2 separate regions of the Homo sapiens genome follow, and region 1 is linked to region 2. Evidence: promoter capture Hi-C in human tissues and cell types (Jung and others, 2019). All regions are on one chromosome and are shown on one strand. The core of a region is centred on a gene start or on the middle of the fragment in contact, and the rest is flanking DNA. Distances in the headings are between cores, read along the strand shown. Region 1 overlaps LOC105375723 (a long non-coding RNA gene). Region 2 holds the start of TNFRSF11B (TNF receptor superfamily member 11b).

The links. The method cuts DNA at HindIII sites, captures the fragments that hold promoters and counts their contacts. A contact is called where the count stands out against the background at its distance.
Region 1: a contact is called between a fragment that was not itself captured here and the fragment with the promoter of TNFRSF11B in region 2, in 2 of the 25 tissues and cell types used here (lymphoblastoid cells and mesenchymal stem cells).

What each region holds. Positions count from the first base shown.
Region 1 is chr8:118,843,028-118,848,660 of GRCh38, forward strand. All of the region lies in intron 1 of LOC105375723 (a long non-coding RNA gene), which reads right to left. Among named protein-coding and RNA genes, the nearest start is that of TNFRSF11B, 110 kb to the right of the region's middle. The HindIII fragment of the contact is 4,724 bases long and covers 835-5,558 here.
Region 2 is chr8:118,948,459-118,954,127 of GRCh38, forward strand. It overlaps TNFRSF11B (TNF receptor superfamily member 11b), which reads right to left and starts at 3,427. Exons shown (of 5, transcript NM_002546.4): 1 at 3,334-3,427. The coding sequence starts at 3,363. It also overlaps a transcript of COLEC10 not described here. The HindIII fragment of the contact is 2,925 bases long and covers 3,068-5,669 here.

The DNA.
Region 1 (5,633 bases), core at 1,947-4,446, 110 kb before region 2:
GATGATCACAGCTCACTATAGCCTTGACCACCTGGGCTCAGATGATCCGCTCACCTCAGTCTCGTGGGTAGCTGGGACTACAGGCATACGCCACTAGGCCTGGCTAATTTTTTGTATTTGTTGTAGAGATGGAATTTTACCATAGCGCCCAGGCTGGTCTCAAACTCCTGGGCTCAAGTTATCCTCCCACATTGGCCTCTCAAACTGCTGGGATTACAAGTGTGAGCCACCATGCCTGGCCAGGTATTTCTTTAAAACAATGCAAAATAGGCTAAGAATAGCACATAGTGTGTACCTTACACTATAGTACAAGTTTCTGTCTGCGAGTATCTGGGATGGGGGAGAAAAAGATATATACATTTATTTACATTTTAAGGTCCTGTCAGAACTATTTCTTTCAGGATGCATTCAGCTTTAATGTATCAAGGGAAAGAGAGTAGGTTTGATGACTTGTTATGTAAAACATTATGTGTGTATTGTATAAAATTTTACCCAGGTATAGATAACTATCCAATCAGGAATTACAGTTAAATACAAATCTGACATTATTTTGGGGAAGCCTATATTTCAGAGGCATCTAGTATAAGTGCTTCTGTTATTCAGAATCTTTGCTAATTAACATAAATTGATGATAGAAATATACTCTCTTGTTGAAATAAATTGATTAAATTTCCATTCAATATGAGTGGATTGGCTAAAATATTTGAAAGATACACCCTACTTTTGTGTGAAATCGGCATAATAACTGAGACTTGGAGCCTAGGTTGGATGTTTACACCTTGATTTCTAAATTGTCTTGGGTTTAGTCACTGTAGGATGACAGAATACTCCTTCCAGAAAAATGTTGTGGTTTCCCCAAGTGACCTTTTATACAATGTATGGTTGCAACACTTAAAAAAAGACAGAGAGCTGAGACTTCTTTGTGCTTACAGAACCAGTTGTGTAAAACCTTTTTGTGCTTGCATAAAATAAAACTTTAATAAATATGTCTGTGTTGCAAAATTTGATCACAACTGGATGGCAAAATTGTGGTGGATTGTCTAATCTCCAACCAAGGTTAAGAGTTTGCATGATCAAATTTATCTCAGTTAACAATAGAGTTTGTATTATGGCCTTCAATTCCATCTTCCTTTAATTCAATTTTGGGCCAGGGGTCACTTCACCAGTGGTCAGCCCCTGGAACTCCTAACCATGTCTGTTTTGTTAGGAGGCAGCCCCTCCAAGTGGCTGTTAATAAGGAAGTCAAGGTGAGCCAGCCACATTGCTCTCCATTGCTCCATATTCCCCTGCAGCAGCCGCATCTAAGGTTTCATGGGTATATCAGACCATATTGATGAGTTGGGGTTAACTAAACACAGTGACAATGTTAAACAGGAAAAAATAGTAAGTGACCTGACATGGCTGCGCACATAGGTTGTGGACACTTTAAAAATAATGCTCCATAAAATATCTCTTTCACTGGTAAGGTTCTACATGGACACACCAACTTGCCTTATTATCCTACTGTATGTCCCTGTCATTCAACCTGTCCACTCTGAGTCTTTACCCTCCACCTTCCACCACCCATTATTTACACACATCTTTTTGGCCGTAGTGTTTATTGTCACATTTGCAGGATATATTGAAACAGAGTAATCCTCAGCAATGCATTTCCTAAATTCTGGCATTTTCTAATCTGAAACACAGGCTTGTTCTATTTCTCCATTCTGTTTAGAACAAAGGTCAATTCCTATCCAATGCCCAGGCCACATTTCAAGCCAACCAAATCAGAATTTCTGAGGGTAGAACCATGAATTTTTTAAGCCCCCCAGGCCACAGTTAAGAACCACTGTTCTGGCCGGGTGCGCTGGCTCACGCCTGTAATCCCAGTACTTTGGGAGGCCGAGGCGGGCAGATCACGAGGTCAGGAGATCGAGACCATCCTGGCTAACACGGTGAAACCCCATCTCTACTAAAAATACAAAAAATTAGCTGGTGGCGGGCACCTGTAGTCCCAGCTACTCAGGAGGCTGAGGCAGGAGAATAGCGTGAACCCGGGAGGCGGAGCTTGCAGTGAGCTAAGATCACGCCACTGCACTCCAGTCTGGGGGACAGAGCAAGACTCCGTCTCAAAAAAAAAAAAAAGAACCACTGATCTAAAAGAACAACAAGAGGGACGGCGAGAGGGTGGCTGGCTTTGACATTAAGTACAAGACCATATACATTTCCTAGAAGCAAACATGAAGTCTCAGACACAGTATAGTCTAAATATGTTGCATGACAAATACATAATTTCCTAATTGTAAAATAATTTAAACAATTGTCTCTTCCCATACTAAATATAACACCTTACCTTATTACAAGCAGAAGTTCTGGTTTCTGTTTGTTAATTGAATTATTGATTTCAGATTGTACCTTAGTGGCCTTTGGTACATTAAAGAACAACAAAAAAACAAGTTCAGAATCTACCTGCAGTTTATTGAGATTTTAAAATCAAAATACCTTCATTATCTTATTTTTGCTATTTAATGTTTTACTTTTGAATCAAATTATATACTCACATAATTTAAAGGGTTAAATTGTTTTAGAATTATTTATTGAGAAACAGCTACTTTATGTCCCTTGTCTTATTTTCTTTTCTCACAGTAAAACATTTTTATAGTTTCTGCTTCATTTACTGAGTGCTGTGACACACATTTCAGCTCCTTTTGTCATCTTGTTCTCTCCTTACTGAGCCCTGGGCTCTCTACATTTGCTCACATTTGTAAGTTGATAGATTCATTAGGTTAAGTAACTTGGTGCTGAATTTTGATCATAGTTTTCATTTATTGTGATGGATTGTTTTCTTGAAGGCGTTCTTAAGTAAACTTTTGTTTTTTCCTTTATCTTCTTATTTTTTTCCTTCCTTCTTTGTTTATGTCTTGTGCTGCTTCCTTTAAAAAATTATTGAGGTGAAATTCATAGAACATAAAATTAATCACTTTAAAATTTACAGTTCAATGTTATGTAGTACATTCACAAGATTGTGGAACCATATCTTTATCTTGTTCTACCACATCTTCTCCCCAAAAGGAATCTTGTTGCCCACCAAGCAGTCTCATTACCTTTTGGTAAGACAAAATACTTATCATATTAGCTACCTATTGCTGTGTAACAAATGGCTGAAACATAGCGACTTCAACCAACAATCATTTCTTAGTCTTACAGTTTTTGAGAGTCAACAATCAAGACATGGCCTAGACTTCAACTTAGCATTTTGCACAAGGCTCTGCTCAAGGTGTCAGGAGCTGCTGTTGTGTCAAAGCTTGACTTAGAAGGAGTCCCTTTCTAAGCTCGCTCATGTGGGTGTTGGCAGGATTCATTTTCTTGCAGGCTGTTGGACTAGCGGCCTCTGTTCCTTGCTAGGTTTTGGCCAGATGCCGGCCTCAATTTCATGCTGTGGACCTTTCCACAGGGAAGCTCACATCAGGACAGTTGGCTCCGTCAGAACAAGTGAGGAAAAAATAGAAGAGAGAAAGACAGAGACAGAGACAAGACAGCCAGCAAGTCTTTTTGTAACCAGTCTTGGAAGTGACATCACGTCATGTTGTCCCTATTTTATTTGTGAAAAGCCATCACTAAGGTCCAGCCCATACTAAAAGAGAGAGGATTACACAACGGCATGAGTCAGCAATGTGCTGAGAATTGGGGATCCCTAGGGGGTATCTCAGAGGCTGCCTACCATGCATGGCATTCTCCAGATTTTTTTGGTTTGGAAATGGTGGAAATTTAAGGATCTATTATCCATCTTTTGAGTAATTGTTCATAATTAGAAGGTGGTTTTGTTTTTTCCCATTGTACCTCTAAAAGAATTTACATTAATTTAGGGGATAAAAAATTTACACAGGCAAAACACAACAATTAAGACTGAACACAGGCCGGGCGCGGTGGCTCACGCCTGAAATCCCAGCACTTTGGGAGGCCGAGGCAGGCGGATCACGAGGTCAGGATATCGAGACCATCCTGGCTAACACAGTGAAACCCTGTCTCTACTAAAAATACAAAAAAATTAGCCGGGCGCGGTGGCAGGCGCCTGTAGTCCCAGCTATTCGGGAGGCTGAGGCAGTAAAATGGCGTGAACCCGGGAGGCGGAGCTTGCAGTTAGCAGACGTCGTGCCACTGCACTCCAGCCTGGGCGACAGAGCGAGACTCCGTCTCAAAAAAAAAAAAAAAAAAAAAAAAAAAGACTCAACACAATAAGCTTTGAATATATGTGCCTTGCACATTAAAAAGGCAGTCAGATAGAATTGAATAATTATTATAAACCTATACCCAAATGACTGTCTCCGTAAATCCATATCCTATATCCTAGGTATGGAGCAAAAATATATTTATCATTAAGAAGAAGAAAGATCAATACTGGCTGCAGCTACTAAGGAGGGAACACACTTGAAAACCCCTACTTAAAGGAGAAGGAACACTATGGTGGTTATTTGAGCAACAGGAAACAGATGATATTTAACATGGAGAAGAGAATATTTTGTGAGTTTTGGCAGCTGTTTTGGGATTTGCCATCATAAGAGGGCTGTGATGTCTTCGTGTTTCCCTGGCGGTGGACATGGAACCTCAGAGTAGAAAGAGCTTCTTGAAGATCTAGGTTGTGTATCCTGCATCCTATCCCACCCCACCCCAGCCAACTAATTATGTAGCTTTGAGTAACTTACCTAACATCTTTAGGTTTCCATTTTCCTGTCTGGAAATTGTGAAAATCACTGCATATATCTCAAAGAGTTGTTACAATAATAAACTTGTAGTAGAAGTTTAAGGATACATTATACTATATTTGCTTATACTTAATGAGGACTAAGAGTTGGAAACATTTAGAGGGGTTACGTTTTGCCTTAAAATTAAGAGGCATTAAGTATTAAGCCAATAGTGGTTAGCTTTTCACTTAATATTGGGAAGAATTATCACAGTTTGGAGTAGAAGTTAGCAAACTCTGTCAGGTGGGATTTTGCCCACGGCCTGTTGTTGTATGGACTGTTAGTGAGGCATGGTTTTTATACTTTTAAAGTGTTTTTGATGAAGTAGCAGCAATAGAAGTTGCAGTGGAGACTGTCCATGGCCCACAAAGTCAAAACTATTTGCTATCTGACCCTTTACGAAAAATGTTTGCCAAACCTGAAAATCTTTCTCAAAATGAGACGGCATCCTTGGGGAGTGAGTGGGTTTTCTATCAATTGAGAAGGCAGTAGAATGAGGATGATGTAGGAAGAAATGAAGTTGTGTAAAAAGAATTCAAACCCTAGAGGACAACTGAAGAAATATCTTCTGAAGTCCTTCTCAACCATAAGATTCTACCAGTTTGTGGCTGCCCATTCTGTATTTTGAAAGCTCTGGTTATTAGAGAGATCTTCCTTATATTGAGCAAACTCTTTCTTTGTAAATTCTATTCATGCCTGTTTTCTTTGCTACCTTTGTTCTTTGTTGTCTCTTGGAAGCTGCTGTCAGAAAAGTGTTTGGAGAAAATGAGGCTTAGGTCATCTTTGCTGTCTTGAAACCAGATTAGTCCATATTTTATGACAAAATGTTAAACAGGCATAGTGTTGACAGTGGTGAAGGGACAGAGGCAAATAAGAGGACTCTCTTCCTGTTAATAAAAATAAAAATAAGAA
Region 2 (5,669 bases), core at 2,177-4,676:
GCTAGGAGAGCAAAAATACCTGAGTGTGTGTTTAGTTCCTTTTGATCAGCACTGCCATAGCTCTCCTTCTAGAACTAACCGGATAAACCATCTGGTGCAGAACGCTTACTTCCTCAATCAGTGGAATTTCACAGCTGTAGTTTCAGCTTAAGTAAAATTTGAAACTAGATTGAAATTAGAAATTGTGCTGGAGGTTGCTAGGTGACCCGGGCCAGGAACGTTGCTACGGACAGGGATCAGGACTGTTTTGGATTGAGGGTATGTCAGATTTTCCTAGAAACTTCAGAGTATTCATTCTCTTAAAACAAAACAACAAAAAAACAAACAAACAAACAAAAAAAAACTTAACCACTAGGGGGAGGGAGAGGAAACCAAAATAACAATAAAACAACAAAAAGCCCCCAAAGGCATTATTCTACAGGAAAACAGACAGACCAGACATTTTTCCTGAGAAAAAAATAAATCTACCCCTCCCTGCCCACTTCTCCACCCCAACTCCTAGTATCATAACATTAATTCAGAACTTAGCTTTGAGAAGTTCAATGGATGGTTCCGATACTACTTGATGGGAAGTTTCAGCCATCAGTTAAAACCTAAGCCTGAGTGAAGCAGAGCAGGCCTCTGCTTAACTGCATTAAGGAACATTCCAGGAAAGCCCATGTCTATGACATTAGTACTAATGACAACATCCCATCCCTACCTCCTTCCCTGCTTGCCTACCAGCATACCCTTTGCACTCACAAAAAGAATCTAGAATTCTATTTTGCTACACAATCTTGCCTTCTCTCACTTCTTTGGTCCAAGATGCCTGATTTTAAATCTCCAACAATGAAACGTCATACCCCTCCTCCAGGATGACGGTAGATGGCCATCTCTCCCTCCTCTGAGTATCATCAGCACTTCGTTTACATAATTCACTTGGATCTAGATTGTCCTAAAGTTAGTTATCTGTGAGCATCATGCTAGGAGCTAGTGTTGATATGAAGCAGAAACTTTATGTGGGCATCTTGGATATATGCATATCATTATTATCATTTTATAGAAGACAAAACTAAAACTCAAGAAGTAACTTGGCCACAGTCATTTCTCAGGTAAGTGGTGGTACTGGTATTTGATTTTTGGTCCACATGATAACACTGCACTAGCAGCTTCCCTTATAAGGTGCTATATGGCAGAATCTTTTATATTCCCAAGTCACCCAGTAGTTTCTTTCTTTGCAACTCTATATACACAATTACTTGCCCAATATCTGCTTTCTCCATTAGACTATGGGTCCATGGTGAAAGGAATAGTGTCTATCTTGCTTTTCACACTGTCCTGATGCCTAGTGCCAGTGGAATGCCCATTATAAAGAAATAAATATCTGTGGTGCTTCTAGTTCCTACAGTGGCACCTTGGTTTTACAAAAGGGCATCTGGACTCTATGTGTAAATACAAAGTGTCCATTTGCAATCATTTTCAAAATAAAGTAAGTCTCAGAAGCTAAAGAAAGGGGAAGCAAAATTCTTCCTATATAAAGTATTTACTGTGTTCAAGACATATACGAAGTCTTATCTTCTGATAATGCTGTATCATCTAAAATTAGTATTATCTACATGTTTGTCTATCTTCCTGTACAGACCACATATAAAAATATTTTACTATTTAAATTTATGGATACTTCTAAATAGAAACATATATTATTTAGTGGAAACCCTGAAATTTAACTCATTGCTAGTATGTTTGTTATTAATTAAATCTTTGACAAAATAAAAAGGGCTAGGAAGAATAAAAATGTCCCCATATTAACGGCAGCATTATTTATACTAGCCCAAAACTAGGATGATTAAATCAATTGTGGTGTGTCCATACAATGGAATACCATACAGCAATGACAACGGACAAATTATTCTATATCCTACAGTAGAGATGAATCTCACAACAGAACTTTCAGTGAAAGAAGTCAAATGCAAAAAATTGAATAAGTTCCATTTATAGGAAGTTCAAATACAAGCAAAATTCATCTATGTTGTTCAAATCAGAATACTGATTGTTCTGGCCATAGACACAGTAGTGATGGAAGCTCTTGAGGTGCCGATAATATATTTCTTGATCTGTGTGCTAGCTCACAAGTGCTCACTTAGAAAAACTGCATTAGGCACTTACCACTTGCACAATTCTCTATGTGTTATATTTTAATAAAGGTTTACTTTTTTAAAAGCACTCCATAGTATCTCTAGCGATGAAGTTATACACACACACACATACATACATATATATTTTAACATACTTATGGGTAGATTCCTATCCAACTTACCTGTTCTTTAGTGTCTTTACTATTTATTTACTTATTTATGTTTCTGTATCCTAGGAACTAAGTAGAAGACTACCTAGCCTTCTATTCATTATTTGTGGGTTGGAGGTTGAAGTTCAAACATTTACTCAAACACATCCAAAACACATATGTGGCTTAAATATGGCTTTTCCTAGCCTTGCATAAATGTCTGATTCATATCTTGATGTACTCTACACTCTAGTGTCATAGAGAAAATAAGTCATTGGTCATAGAAAAACCTACATGCAAATCTTATTAACTTGATCAAAACCTAAGCTTAAAAAAAAAGCTAAGTCACAGAGATTCCTTTCTTTTCCAAATAACATTTTAAACACAATTTTTAGCCCTATTTAGTGAACTTCAATTCTTTAGATATGTTTTAGAACATAACATACTGCCAATATTCTCCACAGTATATTGAAGTTGAGAAGTGAAATAATTTTAACAATAAAATTTTATTAAAACATTACACAGTTAAGAAGTGTGTGTGTGAGAGATCTTTTCTCCTAATTATTCAAAATTTCACATAATATTTACATTAGAAAAATCTATCATGTCATATTCTAATTATAATGGTTTTAAGAAGACTAACGTCTTCTTCCAACTTACTCTGAATCTAAGGGACCACTTCTTTGCCACTAATAATAAAAGTTCAAGTTCATTAAGCAAAGATAGTATGGACTACATGAGGGCGTTAATATTCTGAGATGAAGACAGAAGGTTAATGACTAAAACTTTCAAACAAGTTTCTCTCTCTCTCTCTCTCTCCCTCTCTCTCGCTGTCTGTCTCTCTCTTGCTGTCTTCCATAAAGTCAGCAGGAACTTTGCAGCGTAAAAGGACACCCTAGGGGAAGCATGGCATAACTTGAAAGCGGTTTCCTGCTCCAGCCTAACCCCAAGCCTCTCCTGGGAGGGAGCGAGTGGAGCCTTCTCCCCGCCGGTCCGCTGGGAGGTTGGGAGACCAGGTGGCAGCAGCCTCCCCAGGCGCCGGGCACCCGTCGGCTGGCCCAGGGACTTACCACGAGCGCGCAGCACAGCAAGTTGTTCATTGTGGTCCCCGGAAACCTCAGGGGCTTGGAGGCGGCGGCTGGGCGAGCGCTCCGGTGCGTCTCCGCAGCCCGTGCGCTCATCACGTTATATATAGCGTCCCGGCAACAGGAAGTATCGCCTGCCTTTGATCAGTCATTTTTCTATCCTGGACCAAACTTTGCACCTTTCTTTTTTAGGAAGCTTGGGCGGGAGCGGTCGGGGGGTGTGCAGAAAGCTCCAGGGTTAACGCTTTCAGGGCTGGGGCGGAAAGGATCCCCCAGGGAGGTGGGGCGTGAGGGGTGGGGCGGTGGTGTCTGGCCCCTGGGAGAGCAGGGGAAAAAAAAGCCACCGGGCTGAGGAACAAGGCGGCTGCTGTCTCCGCGGGGCTCTGAGGTTTCCCGGCCCCTTCCCGCCAGCGGCCAGCCTCCTGGCAGCCGGGACCAGCGGTGGGAGGGCTGGGCACACGCTGGGCAGCTGCTGTGCTTGTGTCTCCTCCACCCTGAGAGTCCGATCCAGCCAAGATCCGGACGCAGTTGGAGTGTGTCCCAGACCTTTGTCCTCTCGCTGGGCGAAAGCTGTGAGTTTCCGCCGTACCCGGCTGCCTGACCCCTTCACTTCGGGTTCTGAAACCTCAAATTACAGGGCCCCTCTTTATGCATGGCATTGTCTGAGCCCTTTTCGGGGAGTTCGCAATCATTCATCTTCAAGTTTACATAAACCATGTAGTAGGAATTTTTCTAACTAATGTCTGATTGGCCCTAAAGCCCGTGCTATTCTGCATTCACTCCTTGTTATCTGGGGTAGTTAGAGCCAGAGAGAATCTGCAGAGTGAAAATTGGACTGCCTGGGGCAGGGATAACCTTGCGGAGCACTGTTCCCTTCACCAACCCCACCATCATCAAAGGGCTATTGGTATCGGAGCTTCCTACGCGCTGAACTTCTGGAGTAGCCTCCTCGAGGTCTTTCCACTAGCCTCAAGCTATCGACAGAAGTTTGGCACTTTGCTCTAGGGTTCGCTGTCTCCCCCATTAATTCCCTGGTCTAGAAGTTAGACTTGATGACTTGTAAAGTGTGGTCCCATTCATGGATTACAGTTCGCGGGTTGCCACTGAAATTGTTTACAGATGGCTGAAAAAGTCCCTGCAGAGCTGCTTCCCCATCAGGGCCAAGTGTTCAAGTTATATGTCTCCAGAGAAGGGCAAATACTGCCTTTCACCAGATTCAAGGGAAGGAAGGTGAAGAATCAGGAGAGGGGACCCCTGGGGAGCAAGGATGGCTTACCAGGATCAGAGCATCTGCCCCTTCCAAGGGACATCCTTCCACCACGAGTTCAAAGTGGATCCACAGACTGTTCCATCCTGCAAATTACAGAAGACGGGGTGTCATTCAGCTTTGTCCCTCAAGGGCCAGAATGTAACAGCATGCTGGTTTCTTAAGTGAACTAGTGAATAAATGTAGCTCAGTGAGTGTGGACAAAATTGTATGACTCCAAATCACTCCTTGTATTTTGAATCGTAGTTTTGACATCTGCAACCTGAGATATCAACACTTAGACTTGCCATGGGACTCAAGTCAATCCAAGTGTTAGTAGTGAAACACAATATAAATAGCAGTATTATTGTTTTTGTTAGAGTAATGTTTGTCTAGGATATTATTTGAAGGTGTTTTTCTCAGAACATAAAATGATGCCAATATGTGGGTGTCAGACCTTGGAGAAAACTAATCAATAACTGAGTCCTTCAGTGTTAACCCTGGGAAAGGTTTACGTCTCCCTGAGCCTCATCTATAAGATAAAAACACACTGATATTGCAGAAACGTAAGAGAAAGCAAATGGGAGCGTTTAAAAAACAATTATATAAATGATGGTAATCACTAATTATGAGCATTAAATAAAGTAATGCATGTAAAATAACTCAGCACAATGCCTGGCCCATAGGAAATATTTCCTATAGTTATGATTATTCTAGGGGAATACCTAAGATACTGGCCTTTGTAACCTAGATTTGAGCCCCAACTCCAATTTTTCCTAGCTCTGTGACCTCAGACTAGTTGCCTAACCTATTTTTGTTTCCATTTTTTGTTATTCCTATAATGAGGATAATAATCACATCTACCTCAAAGTATCATAACGGTTATTATAAAGATTGAATTAGATAAAAGATGTAAAACACTAAAAATAGTGTCCGGCACATAGTGCTCATTAAGTGTCATTATCATCTGAGGTTCTCATGGGGACGTTTGTATGAGCACAAGGCAAATCTAGATTGTAAGCTCCTGAGGGCAGGAACTACTTATTTTTCTATGGTATTCGCTGAAGCTTTTAGC